7 separate regions of the Homo sapiens genome follow, and all the other regions are linked to region 6. The links are contacts of gene promoters, found by promoter capture Hi-C in blood cells and fetal thymus (Javierre and others, 2016). All regions are on one chromosome and are shown on one strand. Each heading gives the region's core, a stretch centred on a gene start or on the middle of the fragment in contact. The rest is flanking DNA. Distances are from core to core; before and after follow the strand shown. Region 1 overlaps PPP1R21 (protein phosphatase 1 regulatory subunit 21). Region 2 has its middle 9.4 kb from the start of PPP1R21. Region 3 overlaps STON1-GTF2A1L (STON1-GTF2A1L readthrough). Region 4 overlaps STON1-GTF2A1L (STON1-GTF2A1L readthrough). Region 5 overlaps PPP1R21 (protein phosphatase 1 regulatory subunit 21). Region 6 holds the start of FBXO11 (F-box protein 11). Region 7 overlaps PPP1R21 (protein phosphatase 1 regulatory subunit 21).

Region 1 (2,972 bases), core at 248-2,747, 570 kb before region 6:
GAAAAGAAAGGGAAAAAAAACCTAGAAGCAATTGCAAAGTTGTAGATTAGTCAGGACTCAGAATCACACGCTAAGAAGCATATGAAATAAAAGGTTCCCCTCGGCCTTTCAGCAGACTACATTTTTAGGAGCACAGAAGCAATTGAAAACTGACCAAAATGCAAAACCAGACTTTCATTTCTTAAGGCTATGCCCAACAAGACAGGACTTTAAAAGGCATTTAAAATATTAAAATGCACAGGATGGTGGAAAGTTAGTGTATTCCTTCTGGGGACTTGAAGCCTTGGTTTCCTCAATTCCTTTGTGCTTGGGCTCTAAGAAGCGCAACGTATTTTGCAAAAGGCCTCTGAATAGCATGTCTGGTTTTGTACAATTCACACACCTGCCTAAAGTCAGTGTAACGTATTTCTGGCTAAAGTACTGTACACAAGGACTGTACACAAGGATTTCTCTTCAGCACTTTGTTTACCTCCAGAAATAAAACAGATGGGAAAAGCAGAAGGCAGTGAGCTGTGCACTCAACATAAGCCAAATGCTAATAAGCCTTTATCTGGGGTCTATTACCCTTGGCAGTGTTTGTTTAAATCTTATTCAGGCAGATCGAAGAAAGTGGGGCAAAGGTTTTAAGCTTACGTTCTTTTTCAAGGCCTACCTTTCATAACGTCATGAAATCCATGCAGAGCAGCACCAACATTTGTTAACACAGAACTGTAGTTTGTCCGAAGGAGTCCATCTGGCTCTGTACCTAGGAAATCAAAATCACAAATCTAAGCATTTTCCTGAAAAATGGACTGCCCATTGTATCCCTCTACTTTTGGGAAGATAGAGAATGAAGATTGGTTGTAATGTGCTAGAAATAATGCCTCTTAAAATCGTGGCAGATACATTCAGACATAATGGTGATACACATAAGCACATCTAAATGATTTGCATCTCCTATGTCCACAAATATTTTTTAATGGTTGAGAAACAAAATTCAGTTGTTAAGCAGGATTAAGTCTGTCATGATTCTTTGTAAAACGAAAGTCTTTGTGAATGTTTACCTTGTTATTATATAATGCATTTTTCATTCCCTACACATTATTTGCTGAACATCGCTAAAACACTCTTACCCAAATATCACAGAGTTCTGCTTCTGCCATGTCAGCGTGAGGAGCTCTGTGGACCTGCTTGCCCTCTGCAAAACTGGTAAAATTTGCAAAAAGGACAATCACTTAAAGTCTCTGGAGACGGTTCTAAGGGCAACACAGCACATGATTTACTCAAGAAAATCTGTAACAACTCAGTAATAACAGTGAGAGGCTACGGTATTTAAACCAAGAATCACTACCTCCCTCCCACAGCTCAGGGAGACAGAAATTCCATTCCCAATAGGTATAGCCAAGAACACGGGACTTCGTCTCTCCCAACTCCTAAAGAGGTCTGGATTTCTCCTCTTGCTCCCAGCTACCTGTTGCTGAAGCTAAATTCTGAGCAAGTGTGGACAGAGGCGGGGAACGTTCCCCTTCTTTCACCCAGCCCCTACTCCTAAGATGGAGGCTCTACCTTGGGCGTGGTGCTGCCAAGAAAAGTGGGGCCCTGATCACCCTTGCCCCAGCTCATCAACAGGAGTTCCACCCTGAAAGAGGCAGACCAAGGAGACCGGGGGCTGCTGCCTACCCCCTCCACTAAGGGCGCAGTTTCTAACAAGGGGGTGTCACTTAGAGAAAAGTATGACCACTGTCCCTAGCCCATAGAGATTTAGCCCAGGAGATAAGCAAGCCTTAAAACAAGAGCTCTTAATCTCTTCTTAAGGAACTGACTTAATTTGTAATACAGTGTGGAGAAGTTCAAGCCTAAGGGTGTACTCTAAAAAATTATGGCTGTGGTAAAAGCAATGAAGAAGAAATTGGTAGATTAGCGATATAAGTTAAACTGTGGGCTGCCTGGTTTACCAGAGAGAACAGGAAACAGAAATAGCTAAGAAGAGCCCTCCTGGGGTCAGAATGAAGCGCAAACACTGATCTCAAAAAACTCTACCTGCTAGGTGTACACTAGGTCTATAACTATACCCGTAAAAGAGCCCAAACTGAATTGATTCTCTGAATAGACAATTGATGCCCCACGACATTTTGAAAATGAGAGCAATCAATCAGCAATCAGCAGAGCTTAAACCTGGGTGTGATCAGTGAAAGAGACAGTGAAGGAGAGCCCTGCCACCATCGTCATCTCAGGGTGACTGTATGCATGCCCAAGGCTGAATCCTTGAGAAGCAACATCATGGCACAAAACTTACATGCTAAAAACTAGAAGATGTGTTTAAAGAAATTAAAGAGCTACATAAATGGAAAAACATACTATGTTCATGAATCAGATGACTAAGCTTAGATGGCAATACTCCCTGTATTAATTTCCTAGTGCTGCTGTAATGAAGTACCACAAACAAGGTGGCTTAACACAACAGAAATTTATTTTCTCACAGTTCTAGAGGCCAGAAGTCCAAAATCAAGGTGTTGGCAGGGTCACACTCTCCCCAAAGGCCCTAAGGGAGAATTCTTTCTTGCCTCTTCCAGCTTCTGTTGGCCCTAGGTGTTACTTGCCTGTGGCAGCATAACTCCAATCCCTGCATCTGTCTTCATATGGCCTTCCCCCTTGTATCTCTGTCTCCAGATTCTGTGTGTCTCTGTCTCGAAATCTCTCTCTCCTTATAAGGATCCCATTCATTGGATTTAGGACTCTCTTTAATCCAGTATGACCTCATCTTAATTTGATGACATCTGCAGAGATCCCATCTCCACAGGAGATCACACATACAGGTACTGACAGTTAGAATTTCACATATTATTTTGGGGGACACAATTCAACTCACAACCCTCTCCAAAATGATCTACAAGTTCAATGCAATCCCTATCAGAATCCCAACTGACTTCTTTGTAGACATCAACACAAGCTGATTCTAAAATTCATACGGGATTGCAAGGGACCTCAAATAA
Region 2 (2,999 bases), core at 408-2,907, 520 kb before region 6:
GGGGTTTCACCTGTTGGTCAGGTTGTTCTTGAACTCGTGACCTCAAGTGATCAGCCCACCTCAGCCTCCCAAAGTGCTGGGATTACAGACGTGAGCCACCGCGCCCAGCCCGACCTCCCCCTTTTTTACATAATTATTAACTAAAGTGCATACTTCATTCCTTAAGGTGTTTTTGTTGTTGTTTTTTCTGACATCTTTTTTCTCTTCTTGCAGTGGGAAGTTTCTCAGACTTTCCTTATTTTTGCTGACATGGATAGTTTTTAGGAATACTGGTCAGGTATTTTGTACAGCATGCCTCAGCTGGGATTTGGCTACTGTTTCCATATGATTACTGGGGCCAAATTTTTGGGAGGACAAACAGATAAGGTGTAATTTTCAATATATCATATTAAGGGCACATACTAGAAACCTGTTAATCTTGATACTCTTGATAACCTATGTGAATGCTGTCACAATCAAAACGGAGTCGCTACTACTTAAAAACAAAAAACAAAAAAACCTTAGCAAAGAGAGACCGGGGAGACCTTAAAAAGAGGGTTCTCACACTTGTATACCTGGTAGCAAAAGAGACTCTGGAAAAACCACAACCTTACACAAATGCTATCGCAACGTTAAACAAAAAATAGTTCTGCGGGGACAGCTGCCCAGCAACTGCCTGCCCAACCCTGGACTGGCGTTATGGCATTATCCTTGTTACTGATCTTTGTAGCCAAAGATAATTTTTTTGAAACAACTGTGTAATCTTTCTCATTTTCTTCTTTTAAAAAACCTTTGTCTTCCTTTACCTCCCTGAACACACACATAGTTAACTATGGCATTTGTACGTATTCCCACTGCAGTGTTCTATTCCCAAATTGATAACATTTTCTTTTGGAGAGCCACTCTGTTATATAGTTCAACACCTAATAAATGTTAATCTTGAATTAAAATTAGATATTAAAGAGTTCTGTTTTCTTAAGCATGAGGCCTTCCCTTTTTCCACTGTTAGGCCCTTAAATCTGATTGTATTCGTTCTACTTACTGGCTGTAAAACAAAACATGTGTATTGAGGAGCAATGAGTGACCAGATCACATATAAGGGGGTCAAATGTATTGGATTGTTAAGTTTGGCTCTTGAGGGTGGGGAGGCAGGGGATAGTCCTCAGTTTGTGTGTGTGTGTGGAAGGGGGTTCGAATGTGTATGTTAAAATATATAAATAAATTTTACCATTTTAACAATTTTTAAGTGTATGCTTCCACAGCATCAAGTGCATTCATATTGTAGTGCAATCACCACCACCCATCCAGAACTTTTTTATCTTCCCAAACTGAAACTCCATATCCCTGAAATGAAAACTCGTCATCCTCCTGCCCCCCACCCCTGGCAACCACTCTTCTACTTTCTGTCTCTATGAATTTCATTACTCTAGGACCTCATATAAGTGAACTCATATAATGTTTTGTCCTTTTGTGTCTGGCTTATTTCACTGAGCATAGTGTTTTTAAAGTTCAGCACTGTCATAACATGTGTCAGAATTTCTTTCCTTTTTAAAAAAGAATAATATTCCATTGTATATATATACCATATTTGTTTATCCATTCATCCATTGATGAACATTTGGTTTTTTTCCAACTTTTGCATATTGGGAATAATGCTCTTATGAACATGGGTGTACAAATATCTGTTCAAGTTCCTGTGTTCAATTGTTTTGGGGATATACCCAGAAGTGAAATTGCAGAGTCATATAGTAATTTTATATTTAATTTTTTTTTTTTTGGAGGAACCATCATGCCATTTCCCACAGTGGCTGCACTCTTATGTTCCCACCAGGAATGTACAAGGGTTCCAGTTTCTCCACATCCTTACTAATACTTGTTACTTTCTTTTGCTATCTTTTTTGTTTGCTTATTTACATTATAGCTAACCAATTGGGTGAGAAGTGTTTTCTCCCTGTGGTTTTTGATGTGCATTTCCTTAATGATTAGTGATACCGAAGATGCTTTTTAATTTTTTTAATAATGGCTGAACTAGTGGGTGAGAAGTGCTTTCTCATTGTGGTTTTGATTTGCATTTCCCTGAAAATTAGTAATATTGAACATGCTTTCTTAAAAATTTCAACTTTTATTTTGTATTCAGGCCATACACATGCAGGTTTGTTACAAGGGTATATTGTGTGATGCTGAGGTTTGAGGTACGATTGAACCTGTCACCCAGTAAGCATAGTACCCAGTAGATAGTTTTTCAACCCTTGCCCCCCTCCCTTCCTCCTCAGTATTTATAATCCCCATCCTCTATTGATCCCATCTTTATGTCCATGTGTACCCAATGTTTAGCTCCCACTCATAAATGAGAATGTGCGGTATTTGGTTTTCTATTTCTGCTTTAATTCGCTTAGGATAATGGCCTCCAGCTGCATGCGTGTTGCTGCAAAGGACAAGATTTTATTCCTTTTTATGGCTGTGTAACATTCCATGGTGTATATGTACCACACTGTCTTTATCCAGCCCACCACTGATGGGCACCTGGGTTGATTCCATTTCGTTGCCATTGTGAATAATGTTGCAATGAACATGCTAGTGCATATATTGAACATACTTCCATGTGTGTGTTTATGTCCTCAGGATTGTTTTCTGATTTTTAAAAATTTGTATAAATTTAAGGCGTGCAAGTGAAATTTTGTTAGATGGATATATTGTGTAGTGATGAAGTCTGAGCTTTCAGTGTATCTGTCACCCGAATAACATACATTGTACCCACTAAGCAATTTCTCATCACCCACCCACTTGTGTCTTCAGTTTTTAAAGATGCTTTACAATTGTCCATGGTTTATCTTCTTACTCTACTACAAGTGTCACTATTTTATTCCTTGCCAGTATCACATAAAGACGTAGAGTGAGGGCACAGGTCTTTTGGACCTGCCCTTTAGGTGCAGGGTGGTACGGCCTTACTCCATAGCTCTACAAATAGTAGCAATCATGAGCCTCATCTGAGGCTGCTGGTCTACTTAGAAACGGCCTTC
Region 3 (3,297 bases), core at 334-2,833, 630 kb before region 6:
GCAGGAGTTCAAGACCATCCTGGCTAACACGGTGAAATTCCATCTCTACTAAAAATACAAAAAATTAGCTGGGCCCACGTGGTGGCGCGTGCCTGTAATCCCAGCTACTAAGGAGGCTGAGGCAGGAGAATTGCTTGAACCCGGGAGTCGGAGGTTGCAGTGAGCCAAGATCATGCCACCGCACTCTAGCCTGGGAAACAGGAAGACTCTGTCTCGAAAAAAAAAAGATAAAGAAAGACATATACTTATGATTACTTTATAGGGCCAATACAAGCTTGATACCAAACAATATAAGAACAATTTCCTTTTTTTTTCCTTTTTTTTTCTTTTTTTTTTTTTGAGATGAAGTCTTGCTCTGTCGCCCAGTCTGGAGGGCAGTGGTGCAATCTCAGCACACTGCAATCTCCACCTCCCGGGTTCAAGTGATTTTCGTGCCTCAGCCTCCCGAGTAGCTGGGATTACAGGTGCATGTCACCACGCCCAGCTAATTTTTGGCATTTTTAGTAGAGATAGGGTTTCGCCATGTTGGCCAGGCTGGTCTTGAACTCCTGACCTCAGTTGATCAGCTCGCCTCGGCCTCCCAAAGGGCTGGAATTACAGGCATGAGCCACCACACCCAGCCAGACCAATATTTTAAAAAGAAAATTCTAGAACAACTTCACTTATGAACATTTGCAAAAATCCAAAGTAAAATACTAGCAACCGATACCCTACAGAATAATATACCTGTATATGTATATTTATGTACATGTTTCAACACAATTAATACGCTCATCTTATCACAATGTAATATCAAGAAAAAATGATCATCTCATATAGTTATGAAAAAGACATTAAAGCATTAAGTAAAATATATACTGTCATGATATAATTTTTACCTTGTTAAAAAATATTAAGAATAGAGCAAAGTTCTTAGTTTAATAAAGACTATCTACTGAAACCTTAAGCAAACTTCACGCTTAATGGAGAAACTTTAAGAGCAGTTAAAGTTAAAGACAGTAAGAAGACAAGGCAAGGGTGCCTGTCATCACAGTTCTATTGAACACTGTACTGGACCATCTACCCCAATGCAGTATGGTAAGAAAAAGATGTAGGAGTCACAGAAATGGAAAAGATAAATTATCGTTGTTTTATGATTGTCTATATAGAAAATTCAAGAATTATCTATATGCAGACTATTAGAACTAATAAGAGAATCAGCTGGGATGCTGGGTAAAAAAACAAAATTCAAAAATCAGCAATGTTTCTTTCTATGGGCCAGCAAGTAAACTAGAGAATATACTAGGACAAAAGATATTGTTTAAAATATCAACCAAATCTATAAGATATAAATACAGCAAAAGTTGTAGAAGACATTTATAGGGGAAATCACCAGTAATCATTCACCTGAATAAAAGGAGAAGATAGGAAAAGCCAGCACTGTAAAGATGTCAGTATTAATTGAATGCAATTTCAAAGAGAATCTCAACAGGATTTTCTGTGTGTGTGCAACTAGACAAACTAACGTTTATATAAATTGGTCAAATCCAAGATGGCCCAGAAATTCTGAAAAAATAAAAAAGTAATAATAGCTAACAATTTTTGCGTTCTTCCTTATATAGCAGGTACTATTCTAACTTTTTTTTTTTTTTTTTTTTTTTTAAGATGGCATCTCACTCTGTCACCCAGGCTGGAGTGCAATGGCACGATCTCAGCTCACTGCAACCTCCGCCTCCCAGGTTCAAGCTATTCTCCTGCATCAACCTCCCGAGTAGCTGGGATTATAGGCACCCACCACCACACTCGGCTAATTTTTGTATTTTTAGTAAAGATGGGGTTTTACCATGTTGGCCAGGCTGGTCTCGAACTTTTAACCTCAGGTGATCTGCCCACCTTGGCCTCCCAAAGTGCTGGGATTACAAGCGTGAGCCACCACACCTGGCGTATTCTGACATTTTCATGCACTATCTCTTCACAGTATCTTTGTAATAGATACTATCATTATTTATATTTCATAGATGAGGAGACTGAGAGAACTTGGCAACTTGCCCAAGGTCACACAGCTCACTGGGTAATCACAAATCCTCACAAATTTGGTTTTTAGGTTTTTTGATTTATTTTTTGAGACAGAGTGTCGCTCTGTCACCCAGGCTGGAGTGCAGTGGCCTGATCTCAGCTCATTGGAACCTCTGCCTCCCCAGCTCAAGTGATCCTCCCATCTCAGCCTCCCAAGTAGCTGGGACCACAGGGCACACCACCATGCCCAGCTAATTTTTATATTTTTTGTAGAGGCAGGGTCTCATCCTTGTTGCCCAGGCTGTTCTCAAACTCCTGAGCTCAAGCGATCAGCCCGCCTCAGCCTCCCAAAGTGCTGGGATTACAGGCATGAACCACCGTGCCCAGCTACACAAATTTGTGTAATCACAAATGCTCACTGACTGCTGGGTAGGATAAAATTTTCTAAATCCATACCTAGACATACCTGTGGAACATTTTAGAGAAAATTTTAAAAGCTACCAGGGAGAAGGCAGATTATAATAAAATGACAATCATTTGTGATCAGACTTCTTGTCCTGACCTCAGGTGATCCCCCCACGTCGGCCTCCCAAAGTGCTGAGATTACAGGCATGAGCCACTGCGCCCAGCTGAAAGCCTTCTTCTTAAGGCATGTTTGTTATGTGATGGGCCAGGGGCTCTAAGAATGCTGATCCTTCTGGGGATCTCAAGGTACCTTCCACAAAGAGAATGGATGAGTGATCCCAGGAGCTGCTTGCCTGTGAGGGGACATGGTAGTACAGGATGTGGGCATTTTTTCCCAGAGCTCTCCCCAGAATCACTCACACTAAATATTTCCACCTCACCCAATCAGTCAAACTCACCAATGCATGGGATCACCCACATAGGCAAGCTTTCGAAAGATAATTTATTGTTGTGTGTTCATAGTAATAAGCATCCAGCAATGAGGTTTTTTTTTTCTCTTTCTTATTCCATGGTAAACCCTTTATTTCCCCTGGCATTCCATGTAACACACAGGTACATTTGAGCCTCGGTGCTTTCCCTGGGTCTTTCTACCTATCACACTCTCCTGACGCTGCAAAGAATGATGACACCCTGTAATCTGCAGAGCTCTGAAGACATAATTTGCCTGATCTACTTTAAAAATCTTGCCCTGTACTGAGGACTGCTCCAGAATCCCATAAGGTACCTGGAATTCCAGGCTGGCCAGGAAGCCTCCATGGAATTCGGGATTCTTCTTGTGAGTGGAGCTGGTTTGCAAGGAAGGGGTGAGCTACCTCTAAATCTGGAGCAGTTACCAAA
Region 4 (2,954 bases), core at 123-2,622, 680 kb before region 6:
TGGCACCCTCTCACTCTCTGCATTGCCCTCCCTACCCCCTCAACGGAGAAGCTTGGGGCAGGGCCCTGTAATCCCAGAAATGTCCTGCCCCAAGCCAGGCCCACAGCTGCACCATGCCCTCTGGACGCCACCTGACACAGCCCCACTGTGTTTTCCCTGGGCCTCCTCTTTGTGCACAGACCTGATCTCAATAAAGCAGCTGTGATCCCAAAGGATTTGTTCAGTGAATTATCACTGTGTAATTGACTGAAATGCCTGTAAAATGTTGTCCTCTGTGGGCCTGGTGATATGACGGTTTTACAAAAGAATTCCTGAAGGCCAAGATCAGGTCCAGCCAGTTTCCCTGGAAATGTCCATTCTTGTCATTGTTCTTGGTGAGCTCCACTGCTAATAAATACTCATGGGAGGCCGGACGCAGTGGCTCATGCCTATAATCCCAGCACTTTGGGAGGCCAAACTGGGCAGGTCACGAGGTCAGGAGTTTGAGACCAGCCTGGCCAATATGGCGAAACCCCATCTCTACTAAAAACACGAAAATTAGCCAGGCGTGGTGGTGCGCACCTGTAGTCCCAGCTACTTGGGAGGCTGAGGCAGAAAAATCTCTTGAACACAGGAGGTGGAGGTTGCAGTGAGCCAAGATGGTGCCATTGCACTCCAGCCTGGGTGGCAGAGCGAGACTCCGTCTCATAAATAAATAAATAAATAAATAAATACTCATGGGAGAGCAATAACAGAGGTCTGGAAGACAAAGGCATATGCAGAGCAGGGAGGAATGATCTCTGCCTAGGGGATCACGTCAGTAGTTCTCAACCCCGGCTGCATGAGCCTTTATAAACATCAACACCTGAGCCTCATCTTCATAGAGCCCGATTAGTAGGGGATGGGGCCCAAATATGGGTATGTGTTTGAAGCTTTAATGATGCTAACATGTGGCCAGGACTGGGAAACAGACTTTAAAAGGATGAGTGATGAGAAGATCCCAGGCTATCTCGGCTAATGGCACCATTGCCCACCTATCCACCACAGCCAGAGCACCTGACCTTGTCCCATTCCCTCCCTTTCCCTCATGCCCATAGAGAATCTGTCATCACTTAGGGGCACCTCCCCTGAATTCGCTCACCCATCTCTTGCCTCTCTCTCTCTGCCACTGCCTTTGCTCAGCAACCCTTACCTCCTCCCAACTTCCCTGTGTCTATAATCTACTCCTAAATCTTTCCTCTGCACTGCATGCCAGCCTTTCTGAAACAAGATATGATTCTGTAGCAGTCATGCCGAAAACAACCCCGAGGCCCTGTTGACAGATAAACTTCACACCCCACAGCATGGCCCACAAGGTCTTAATACACTGGTCTCTTCCCCGACCACTCCCTCAGCCCCAAAACTTAGGTAAGATCCCCCACCCACACACCTGTGGTTCTGCTGTTTCTTTCTTTGATGGAAACTCTATTGACTCTCCCAGCCATCAGCTCTTCAGCGAAGCCCTCCCTAGTCCCCAGGCAGTTTATTACCCTTTCCTCTGGGATCCCTAAGTGCATATGTTTGTCCAAGCCTGGAACTATGCACTTTTCCACAGTGCATTTGGGTAGCTGCTTCAGAGTCTGTCTCACCTTCTAGACTGTTAAGTTTCTGGTAGAGTAGGAATCATGTTTGTGTCTGTATCTCTTAAACACTCAGCACAGAACCTATACCTAGAAGAACTTTAGTAGATGTTTGTGGAGTAAATGAGTGAGACTCCTTCTCAATAAATTCTTGTTGATTGAATCAGTTAACTACACCAATGACTCTGAAAAAAATGCAGTATTATAAACAGGATCATTTTCACAAAAAGCTTCATACGTGTCTGCACTCCCAAAATTAGAAAAGATGATTGGTATGGGTTCTCAGTTTGAAAAATAAGTGTGGTTACCCTGGCCAGGCTTTAGCCAAGTGCTTATTTCCTTCAGGGCCTCCCGGAGCACCTGCTCTAAGTAGAGCAATAGGAATGGACTACAAAGGGAGCCTGTGCTCTTGTCCCTCTCACACCACGTGGGCAAGCCCACAGCCTGAGCCTATTGTGCTTCTCTCTCAAAAGCATAATTACCACTTCAAGTCTATGCAAAAACTGCTTTGGACCTTTTGTTCTAGTCCTCGAGACCATCTCTAGGATCAACGGAAAACAACAGGAGTTAGTTTATCACCCAGATTTCAGGGGAAACCTGCAGATCCAGGAGTTTCCAATAGGCATTCCAGCCTGCCTGACTTTCTGCCTGCCTCTCTTTCCCTTTTTGTTGAGCAAAACAAAAGCTAATACTCTGATTTTGTTTAAACCCTCTAACCTAAAACTAGCACAAGTAACTTTTAGAATAGACCATTTGGAACCTTGTATGAAGACCTTAAAACTGGTTTCTCTGGCATGATGATGCAAATGGTTCAATTTGCCTCTCTAGCCAAGTTATAAAAGAAAGCAGGGGCCAGGCACGGTGGCTCAAACCTCTAATCCCAGCACTTTGGGAGGCCGAGGCGGGTGGATCACCTGAGGTTGGGAGTTCGAGACCAGCCTGGCCAACATGGTGAAACCCCATCTCTACACAAAATATAAGAAGTTAGCCGGGTGTGGTGGTGCGGGCCTGTAATCCTAGCTACTTGGGAGGTTGAGCCACTAGAATTGCTTGAACCCAGGAGGCAGCGGTTGCAGTGAGCCAAGATTGCACCACTGCACTCCAGCCTGGGTGACAGAGCAACACTCCATCCCAAAAAAAGAAAAAAAAAGAAAGCAGGAAACATCATCTCAGTGGATTATATCATAGAAGATACTGACCTTCCCTCCCATCACAGCAGAGTTGATCAGAATGTGCTGTTTGAGACCATTTACTGTGACCAGGCTGCACCATCACCACCTCACTCTGCCCTAAGCCTGAGCTATCCTTGCTAGTATGGGGGAACTGAACATAATTAATCTGAGTCTTGAGAACGCT
Region 5 (3,358 bases), core at 239-2,738, 550 kb before region 6:
TGTAGATTACTCCCATTTTCTCCTTTTAAATGTAAGACAATTAAAACAGAGGAGCTGCTACAACCAAAACCCATGTCTTCTGAGTCTTGCTTCAGAACCCTCTTGGAATTCAAGTTTCCACATACCATTCTTCCGTTCGAAGTCGACATTCCTTGGCTTCCTTTTCTAGAGTCTGAGATTTCACCTGAATTTCAGAAGAAAAAGAAACACAGATGGCTCAGGCTACGACAGATAGGAGCACACTTAGTAAGACCCTGCAGGCAAAAGTCTCACCAGAAATGACTAACTCTAAGTGGATAGACAATTTATTAATACAAAAGCTGTAACTATTTTTTAGTGTGCTCTCACAATGGGGCTTACTTCTAGTTTAGCCTTGTCGTTCTGCAGCTTCTCAATGGTTTCCATGTACTTCCGGGTGAGACCGTCAACCACAGCTTGGTGCTGGGCTGCTTCTGTCTCCAGAGTGGCCAGTCGACTCCTCAGCTCTGCTTCCACATGCTTGTGCTGCTCATCAGCTTCAAAAAACTAAAAAGAGAAGACCATTTTCTCTTCTCACAATATCCTAATATACATAAATGAGAAAAATAACAGCAGTGACTATTCACTGAGCAACTTCCACATGGTTCCATATGCTGACTATGTTAAACCCACACAGGCATTATCTCATTAAATCCTCACAGGATATCAGAAGTAGCTACTGTTATTCCTCTTTACAAATATGGAAACTCAAGCTTAAAAGAGTTAATAACTAGTCTAATGTCTCACAGCTAAAATATAGTAGAACTGAGATTTGAACACAGGAAACCTACTCCAAAGCCTGCACCTCCTACCTCTCAGTCTCATGAATTTCTGTTTTAAACAATGTCTGGCATACATAGAATTCAATTGATCAGAGTATAACTTTTCTACTAAGCTAACTTTCACATAAAATAATCAAAATTAAAACAGGTGTTATTCTTAAAACAGGTAAAGCTCTTTCCTGTAATTAGAGTCCAATACTAATAAAGAATTGTGAATACTTAGATATAAAATACACTGTGGTCAAAAACAACTTTTTCAAAGACTGAAAAGCGTGTCTGTTTGTGTGTGTGTGTGTGTGTTTCCTACCATTTGACCAAAAAAAAATAAGTAAGGAGGTTATAGTTGGATACACTATACTATGAATCTTTTTTTTTTTTTTTTTTTTTGAGACAGAGTCTCACTCTGTCGCCCAGGCTAGAGTGCTGTGGCTTGATCTCGGCTCACTGCAAGCTCCGCCTCCCGGGTTCACGCCATTCTCCTGCCTCAGCCTCCCAAGTAGCTGGGACTACAGGTGTCTACCACCACGCCTGGCTAATTTTTTGTATTTTTACTAGAGAAGGGGTTTCACCGTGTTAGCCAGGATGGTCTCGATCTCCTGACCTCGTGATCCGCCCACCTTGGCCTCCCAAAGTGCTGGGATTACAGGCATGAGACACTGCGCCCAGCCCACTATGAATCTTAGAATATGCTCAGTGGTTTGGGGGCAGGCACTAACTTTTCAACATTCCATAAATATCTGAGTGCCTGACATAAGTAAGACACTGTCCTGGGACTAGGCATAGGAAACATACATGGTTCATACCCTCAGAGACCTTACAGTTTAACAGGGGTAGGGATAAGAACCAACTAAACATCAGTAAATTAAAAAACTAAACATCAGTTAAAAAAAAAAAAAAAAGGGAGGGGGAGGGAAAAAAGCAAATACCATTTATTGGTAAGCTCCCATTTAAATGATACATGTAATCACTTCCCATATAAAATGAATAATGCTCAGTATATTTCTGCACTGTTAAGTTATAAAGCTATTCTGCTGTCTTCTGAACAAATGCATATACTTCAAAGCACACATCCACATTAAGACTGTGTGATATTTAAGAAATGAATAAGTGACAGTGACATATATACTTGAAGACCATAGAAGACATTAAAATACCCACGCAGACACAAAACACTCTATGTGCATTAGCTTTTCCACATTAACAGATCACAGACCCATTTTTTAATTCACATAGAAAAACAGATTTTCTCACTTGTATATGCAACCGTTCATTCTCTTCTATCTTCTTTTGCAGATCTTCATCAAAGACACTCTTCTGCTCTTGACTCAACTGAGAAGAAGATTCTCCACTTTTCTGATGGAAAGAATAAGTTATGTCCACATAACTTTCATCCTTTAGAGAAACATCCTAAGGTACACAGATTCTCTATCATCTTAGAAGCTTGTCTCTTCTATGTGTTCACCATTCTCAAACAATCCTGCAAAAGCTATACAGTTCATCATTTAACTTTTCCTATGTGACACAAGTTGAAACTGCAAATATTGTAAGGAGCAGGAAAGCTTTAAAAAGAGAGAGAAAAGAACAGATAAGGCTTACTATTCTTTGCAGATGAATTCAGGAGTAGTTCTGCTGGAGGACGGAGCAGACCTAGAAAGCTCCAGCAATATAAAATAAGCTCATAAATATCATTTCAATTTGATCTTTTGGTTTGGGAAATGAGAGTTATAGCAATTTCATGAGTCGGAGTTGTTAAACTCCATAAGAAATTGTAATAAATTCTGTAACAGCATCCACAAAGGTAAGTTTATACAAAAGTTCATATAAATTTCTAAGTTAAAAAATATATAAAATAAAGCTATTATAAATAAATAGGAAAATTCTCAAAGATTATTTTAAAATCCCTTCCTTTAAATTTTTACTAATATGAACTCGTTCTACATAGAAGAATAGCACTATTTAAAACATCTAATAATGAGTATTTGTTTTCATGTAATACATAGAACTGAGACTATTCAAGGAACAGCCTAACAATGAAACTGTGTTCAAACATCAGTCACCACCCTTTCTCTGCTTTTTTTGTAGTCTCACTTCTCACTTAAAATGAACTCACCTACTAATCCAATTTGAATCAGTGATTTAAAAGCCCTTTGAAAATGGAGTAGCCATATAAAAAGAAATTAAATATCCATCATGTTTGGAAAACAAGAGGTGCATATGGAACACTGCAGAACGATGTATTCAGGGTCCTTAGTGCTTCCAAATTTGATGAGCTTTAATTAAAATTAATTCTCAATATTACACCCAAACCTCTGCTCAACAGTCCTAGGCAGGGATATTAAGAACCTGAAGAACATGTTTGAAGTTCAGATGACTATTCTCTCCCCAAGGGTCTTTCAGAATTTCCAGGGCATGTATCTTTTTTTTTTTGAGAGGGAGTCTCACTCTGTCGCCCAGGCTGGAGTGCAATGGTGTGATCTCGGCTCACTGCAACCTCGGCTTCCTGGATTCAAGCAATTCTCCTGCCTCAGCCTCCCAAGTAGCTGGGATTACAGGCACAT
Region 6 (2,929 bases), core at 430-2,929:
TACAAACTCTTTATGCCCAATATTTTCCTTTTATTAGTATTTCCCATAACACCTTATATACATATTAATGCATACACGGAAGGAGCCAAAAAGTACTTGTCAAATAAAAAAGTAAATTTTTAGAAAAATCAGAAATGATGGACACACTTATATGTATAACGTAATTTTCCTGTACTTTTACTTTTCCCCTATGTTTATTTGAACAAACCTAAAATTGTACCCATTTGCACCTAGCTAACCACCATAAAAATTTGGAGTTCTCCAGCTGTTTTGTAACAGCTGTCCTCCTCAAATATTTTTTTGAGAAACAAACATAGACCTACGTTTCTCTATTTTTCTGGACTAAAGAGAGATCATCTCAAAATCACAGAACTCTTAAAAATTGAAAACAGGATCATGTAGTCTAAAATAAGTTCTTATTTAAACTTGGGAGGTGAGGGGGGCGGGGCTGACATCTAGAAAGGTGAAGTACTTTGCCTGTAGTCACACACCAAGTCTGGGACTCAACACACAGGCTCGCCTCTTTGCGTCTCTCCCTCCTTCCAAAATACATTTTCCTCCCTCTCAAAAGCTTTATCACGCTTTGTAGTTGCTTAATTATCTATGTCAAACCTAGAGAGCAACTGATGACACTCAGAGACATCGCCCAAAGTTCTGAAAACCAGATAATCAGATAAACTGCCAGTTTTACCACATCCAAAAAATGCACAACAAAAGAGAGAAGGGGGAGAATCGAGAATACATTTTCAGCCGCAAGGCAATAAAAACACGTTTCCCTTGGAGAGAGATTATGTTGGGGGCATCAGGTATAAAGGTAATTCCTGTTGAGGGTTTTTCTTTTCCTTGCAGTTTGTGGGACCTAAAAAAAAAAAATTAAAAATTAAATCACATAAACAATCACAACATCAACACATTTACTTCTCTCCTCTCACATATTATTTTCCCACACATTGTATACACTTCTTCAAAGAACAAATCAAATTGGCCAAAGGTCAAAGCCTTTTCAAGGTTTAGATGATATACGATTAGGCACCGACTCCAAACTTCGCTTACCAAGCCCAAAGCTCGGAGACGGAAATCTTCAGGGTTTGCAAATACCCTCAGCTTGGCTAAAGGGCACGAAATCTCTAGCGCTCCCTACAGCTCAGATTTTGAACCCACCTACCACAGAAAACCCGAGTTACCAAAGATTGGCTCCCTCGTTCCACTTTTTTTTCAGCTCAAAAAAATCGGGTGAAGGTTGGGGTAGGGGGGAAGCTGAAACGGCGAACCGAAGGATTAATCACTTCTCCCCATTACATCAGCAACCCCCGCCCTTTCCTCCGAGCACCTCCTCTCCCAGAATCGTCGCTACGCACTGGCGCTCTCTTCGCCCACCCCCTGCTCTATTATTTGCCCTGATACCTCCCCATTATCACCCGCCCCGCCACACTCCCCCTTTCCTCTTTCCCCCTCCTAGGCGGGGGAGGGAGGAAACCCGAGAGAGGAAACAGGGCGTTGAAGGGACTTCGCGATAAGAGCGGAGGCCCCATTGGCCGGAAGGTTGTACGGGCGCCTTAGATTGGCCGCCTGGACGGAATCCCCGCCCCTCCTTTCCCCGCCCACCCACCCCTCCCCCCGCCGCCCCGCGGCCCTCCCCCGCGCCCCCGGCCAGCCCCGCGGCGGGGAGGGACCGACTGGGCGAGTGGAGGCTCCGGCGGTGTCAATGGCTCCTCCTGCCACGGAGCAGCAGCAGAAGCAGCGGCGACAGGGCTGACGAGGAGGAGGAGGAAAGGTTCCTTTAAGGAGGAGGAAGGACGACGCCTCTTTTTCCCCCTATCTCCTCCCTTCACACTCATTTCCCCTTCGCCGAGGAGAGAAGGGGGGGAGGAGAGAGAAGAGACCGAAGAAAGAGAGAAAAATTCCTCACAGAAATCTCTTTCAGGGGGTGTGGGGGGGAGGAAGAGGGAAAAAAAAGAGCCGGGCGCCCCCTGCTCCCTCCCTCCCTTCTCTCCCTCTCTTTTTCTCCCTTCCTCACCCGCCCGCCCACTCCCCCCGCTGCCGGAGACGCCGCTCGCGAGTCGGCGGGACCGGGATCTGTCTCTTCAGCCGCCGCCGCCGCCGCCGCCGCGCTTCGCCTCGGGATCCCCAAGCGGCGGACGCCCTTTCTTTCTTTCTCTCGGTCTGCCCGTCTTTCTGCCTTCGTCCCTCGCGGCCGCCCCGCCCGGCGGCTTCGGCCTTCCCCGTGCGTCAGGCCCTCCCGGCCGGCCTCGCTCGGTCTCCGTCTGTCTACCCGGGCCTTTCTCCGGACTCGGGGTCCCGCTCGCCCCCTCCGCCCTCAGCGTCTCCCCTTCCCCTCGCCCCCTCTCCTTCCTCCCCCCTCTCCCACTCTCCCCACCCCTTTCTCCTGCCCCGAAGCTCGCTGTGCGTGTGCGTGTGTGTGTCCCTCCGCCAACGCCGCCACCTCAGCCCGGCAAATGAACTCCGTCCGAGCCGCCAACCGGAGACCCAGGCGAGTGTCGCGGCCGCGCCCGGTGCAGCAACAGCAGCAGCAGCCCCCGCAGCAGCCGCCGCCGCAGCCGCCCCAGCAGCAGCCGCCCCAGCAGCAGCCTCCGCCGCCGCCGCAGCAGCAGCAGCAGCAGCAGCCTCCGCCGCCGCCACCGCCGCCTCCGCCGCTGCCTCAGGAGCGGAACAACGTCGGCGAGCGGGGTAAGGCCGCGCTACCTCCCAACCGCCCGCCTTCCCGGGCACCGCGGGAAGGGAGGCCGGGGCGGGCGGGCGGGCGGGCGGGCGGGGGCGGCCTGCGCGCCCTGGGGGTGGGAGACCCAAGCTGAGCGGAGGCGGGTCCCCCGGTGCCGCAGTGTCAGCCCGGGCCGGGCCCGGCCGGCAGGAAAAGCCGCGGCTTCCCTTCTCGCCTGGGCTCTCGCTCAGGCCGCGCTTTGTTTGGTTT
Region 7 (2,964 bases), core at 336-2,835, 600 kb before region 6:
ACAGGCTGGAGTGCCGTGGCACAATCATAGCTTGCTGTAACCTCAAACTCCTAGGTTCAAGCAATCTTCCCACCTCAGCCTCCCAACTAGCTGGGACTACAGGCACAGGCCCTCATGCTTGGCTTATTTTTTCATTTTTTTTTTTTTTTGTAGAGATGAAGTATCACTATATTGCCCACTCTGCTCTCCAACTCCTGGCCTCAAGGGATCCTCCCACCTCAGCCTCCCAAAGTACTGGGATTACAGGCTTAAGCCACTGCCCCTGGCCCTTACAAACACTTTAAATCTTATGTCCTCTTCCTCCTGAAATGCATAACAATAAAATACCTCACATTAAATATTATATTGCAGAGAGACTACCTCACCTCACCTCACATACCTTACTGGACATCTTTAGTGTGTCAATCTCTTCTCTCTGTTTAGATAATGTCTCATTCATGCTGCACAGGTGGTCACTCATCATACTTAACTGATCCTCGTAACTCCTCTTGGTAGTTGTCAGCTCATCCTAAATAGCAAAGAAAAAGACAAAAATCAACATCCCACGAGTCGTACCACTCTGAAGCTTTTTTAATTCACAAAAGAAAAATGTGGAGTAGGGAAATTATAGTTTCCCAATAATTTACTGTATATTTCAAAATAGCTACAAAAGAAGAATTATTATGTTCCCAACACAAAGATAAATGTTTGAGGTGGTGGACCTCCAAATGACCCTGATTTGATCATTACACACTGTACAAAGGTATCAAAATAATCAAAATACCATGTCCCCCCCAAACATGTACAACTATTTACATCAATTTTTTAAAAAAATTCTTTTACTTGTAAAAGCAACCTATAAAGATGGTCTATCTGATCAATTGACATGCAGCTTAAGGCCCAGGCCTAACAAGAGAACAAAGTTAAAAGAAATGGCAACAAGTTTTTCTCAGCCTCCAAAGTAGATTCATAATTTCTTTGCAAAAATTTAAGGGTTTCTTTCTATGCCAGGTATAAAATTGTAAGAAAAGCCATATGGCCTCATTATCTTTCCAAATTCCCTCAGGTTTTGCTGAGCCATAGGTGAGGCCTACAACACATTGCCTCCATCCTATGCCTCGATGGCCTACAGCCCTCCCGGCAGCACCGTCCCTGAAAGAAGCACCCTTCATCTCTCTTCCCATTTCTCATGCTCTCTTCTGCTGCCTAAAATCTAATCCTGTGTGCCTAATTAATCTGATAAATGAATCTAAAGCAAAGAGGAAGTGGGTGTTGCTGTAGTGCTGTGTTTTTTCCTTGCCTGGCATCATGTTTTTATTAGCAGAGGCTTTCTGAAAACAAAGATTTAAAACCAGGCAGTGAGTAAGAAGGAATGTTATAGCCCCACCTTTCAGTTTAGATCCGTTTTATGCAACAGGAAAGAAAAGGAACAGAGTACTATGTACAGAACAAGCCTACAGCTCACCATGATGGGTATGTACAAGGAAGGGGAAAGAAAAATTCTGGGTAAATAAGTATTATTTAAGCAAAAGCCGACTATAAAATGATTTACAATTAGAATCAAGTCAGAGAAACAATACAACTACTTTTTGCCTAACATAAGTAAGATGTTATTTTTAAATGAATCAGAAATACAGTGGTTATCTTAAAAAGCATATCTAGAGATCAAATGCCTTTGGAAAAGAAATGCTGCTTTGCTACCAAAGAACTTTCAATGAAAAAACATTAAAACCATTCAGGTAACACTTAACTCACCTGAAGTCTGCTGATGTTCTGACTGGCAAGTTTCATTTCTTCTGTCAATGCTTCCTTAGACTTTTCAGCCAAGGCCAGTCTTTTAGACAGTGCTCGGCACTGTAAAATCAGAAAACATTCCATTACTAGAGGGAGCACTTTCTAAAACCAAATTTGCTTCGGGAAAGTTTGTTAAAAACACTTCTCAAAGCCAAAGCTACTCATTCATTCCACAAATAATCTGTTGAATACCTATAGGCATTGTGTCACACATCAGAGTACACCTAAGAAAGAAGTGGCCCCCAGCTTTGTCATTTCAGTAAGGGGAAAAAAGTCTACCAACTTAAGATCAATGTTTTTTTCTTCACTCTAGCCTGATGACCAGTGGTTATATATAATACATAAGAACTTTCTTTTTTTTTCTTTTTTTGAGACGGAGTCTTGCTCTGTTGCCCAGGCTGGGGTGCAGTGGCATGATCTTGGCTCACTGCAACCTCCACCTCCCGGGTTCAAGTGATCCTCCTGCCTCAGCTTCCCGAGTAGCTGGGATTACAGGCATGCACCACCACACCCAGCTAAGTTTTGTATTTTTAGTAGAGACGGGTTTCACTATGTTGTCCAGGCTGGTCTCAAACCCCTGACCTCAAGTGATCTGCCCACCTCAGCCTCCCAAAGTGCTGGGATTACAGGTGTGAGCCACAGCACCCGTTCTTTACATAAGAACTTTCTAGATTTATCTAGAATTCATTTATATTTATACTAGATAAAAAGAAAAGTGATTATTACAAAAGTTATCAGGAGCTTCTGACCACGCACTATGGATCCTAAGGTACTTTTCTTGTGTTTTAAGTCCTTCATTAGAGACCACATTATAGGAGCAATAAAAGCTTTACCATCCTACCCTACAGATTATGCGCTACTTACAAGGGAAAAAATGAGCACAAGATTGCAAAAATTCCAGGCTGCTTTCTTTAGGGGTTCTACCAATCCTACTCTATCCAGAGAGTGTGTAGATCAAAACGATAAAAGAAAAATCCTATTTCACAATATTGTTCAAAGAGGGTATGAAATTAAAAGGCTCACTAAACTTTCTGATAAGGTTACTGACAAGGAGAATCTGTTGAAACACATGCAAATGCTATGTCAACATAAGGCGCTCAGAGCAGTAAAGTCATGTGGGAGGGGGGAGGTCACCACTTCCTGTTTACCAATAAGGAAAAAGTAGGACAATTTAAAAATTCTTGAATCACA

What was found. The method cuts DNA at HindIII sites, captures the fragments that hold promoters and counts their contacts. A CHiCAGO score of 5 or more calls a contact.
Region 1: a contact is called between a fragment that was not itself captured here and the fragment with the promoter of FBXO11 in region 6, in 9 of 17 cell types (non-activated CD4 T cells, activated CD4 T cells, M1 macrophages and 6 more). The highest score is 9.3, in non-activated CD4 T cells.
Region 2: a contact is called between a fragment that was not itself captured here and the fragment with the promoter of FBXO11 in region 6, in 17 of 17 cell types (total CD4 T cells, naive CD8 T cells, naive CD4 T cells and 14 more). The highest score is 32.1, in total CD4 T cells.
Region 3: a contact is called between a fragment that was not itself captured here and the fragment with the promoter of FBXO11 in region 6, in 1 of 17 cell types (fetal thymus). The highest score is 6.4, in fetal thymus.
Region 4: a contact is called between a fragment that was not itself captured here and the fragment with the promoter of FBXO11 in region 6, in 3 of 17 cell types (M1 macrophages, M0 macrophages and megakaryocytes). The highest score is 7.8, in M1 macrophages.
Region 5: a contact is called between a fragment that was not itself captured here and the fragment with the promoter of FBXO11 in region 6, in 15 of 17 cell types (total CD4 T cells, M2 macrophages, M0 macrophages and 12 more). The highest score is 13.1, in total CD4 T cells.
Region 7: a contact is called between a fragment that was not itself captured here and the fragment with the promoter of FBXO11 in region 6, in 5 of 17 cell types (fetal thymus, non-activated CD4 T cells, M1 macrophages and 2 more). The highest score is 7.9, in fetal thymus.

Annotation. Positions count from the first base shown.
Region 1 is chr2:48,477,697-48,480,668 of GRCh38, reverse strand. It overlaps PPP1R21 (protein phosphatase 1 regulatory subunit 21), which reads right to left. Exons shown (of 22, transcript NM_001135629.3): 13 at 653-745. Among named protein-coding and RNA genes, the nearest start is that of PPP1R21, 38 kb to the right of the region's middle. The HindIII fragment of the contact is 1,734 bases long and covers 631-2,364 here.
Region 2 is chr2:48,429,880-48,432,878 of GRCh38, reverse strand. No RefSeq gene overlaps it. Among named protein-coding and RNA genes, the nearest start is that of PPP1R21, 9.4 kb to the left of the region's middle. The HindIII fragment of the contact is 8,975 bases long and covers 1-2,999 here.
Region 3 is chr2:48,534,892-48,538,188 of GRCh38, reverse strand. The region is part of intron 1 of STON1-GTF2A1L (STON1-GTF2A1L readthrough); the gene reads right to left. The region is part of intron 1 of STON1 (stonin 1); the gene reads right to left. Among named protein-coding and RNA genes, the nearest start is that of STON1, 6.4 kb to the right of the region's middle. The HindIII fragment of the contact is 2,613 bases long and covers 277-2,889 here.
Region 4 is chr2:48,585,043-48,587,996 of GRCh38, reverse strand. The region is part of intron 2 of STON1-GTF2A1L (STON1-GTF2A1L readthrough); the gene reads right to left. The region is part of intron 2 of STON1 (stonin 1); the gene reads right to left. Among named protein-coding and RNA genes, the nearest start is that of GTF2A1L, 31 kb to the left of the region's middle. RefSeq lists an enhancer at 1,830-2,464. The HindIII fragment of the contact is 917 bases long and covers 914-1,830 here.
Region 5 is chr2:48,456,921-48,460,278 of GRCh38, reverse strand. PPP1R21 (protein phosphatase 1 regulatory subunit 21) reads right to left here. Exons shown (of 22, transcript NM_001135629.3): 4 at 2,052-2,153; 5 at 361-525; 6 at 126-184. Among named protein-coding and RNA genes, the nearest start is that of PPP1R21, 18 kb to the right of the region's middle. The HindIII fragment of the contact is 1,509 bases long and covers 734-2,242 here.
Region 6 is chr2:47,905,248-47,908,176 of GRCh38, reverse strand. FBXO11 (F-box protein 11) reads left to right here and starts at 1,679. Exons shown (of 23, transcript NM_001190274.2): 1 at 1,679-2,688. The coding sequence starts at 2,457. It overlaps LOC100506235 (a long non-coding RNA gene), which reads right to left and starts at 2,627. Exons shown (of 2, transcript NR_187636.1): 1 at 2,378-2,627; 2 at 10-859. RefSeq lists an enhancer at 733-1,517 and silencers at 1,587-1,686, 2,177-2,366, 2,727-2,846, 2,857-2,906. The HindIII fragment of the contact is 3,894 bases long and covers 574-2,929 here.
Region 7 is chr2:48,508,884-48,511,847 of GRCh38, reverse strand. PPP1R21 (protein phosphatase 1 regulatory subunit 21) reads right to left here. Exons shown (of 22, transcript NM_001135629.3): 20 at 1,735-1,833; 21 at 380-508. Among named protein-coding and RNA genes, the nearest start is that of STON1-GTF2A1L, 20 kb to the left of the region's middle. RefSeq lists an enhancer at 2,481-2,964. The HindIII fragment of the contact is 2,035 bases long and covers 568-2,602 here.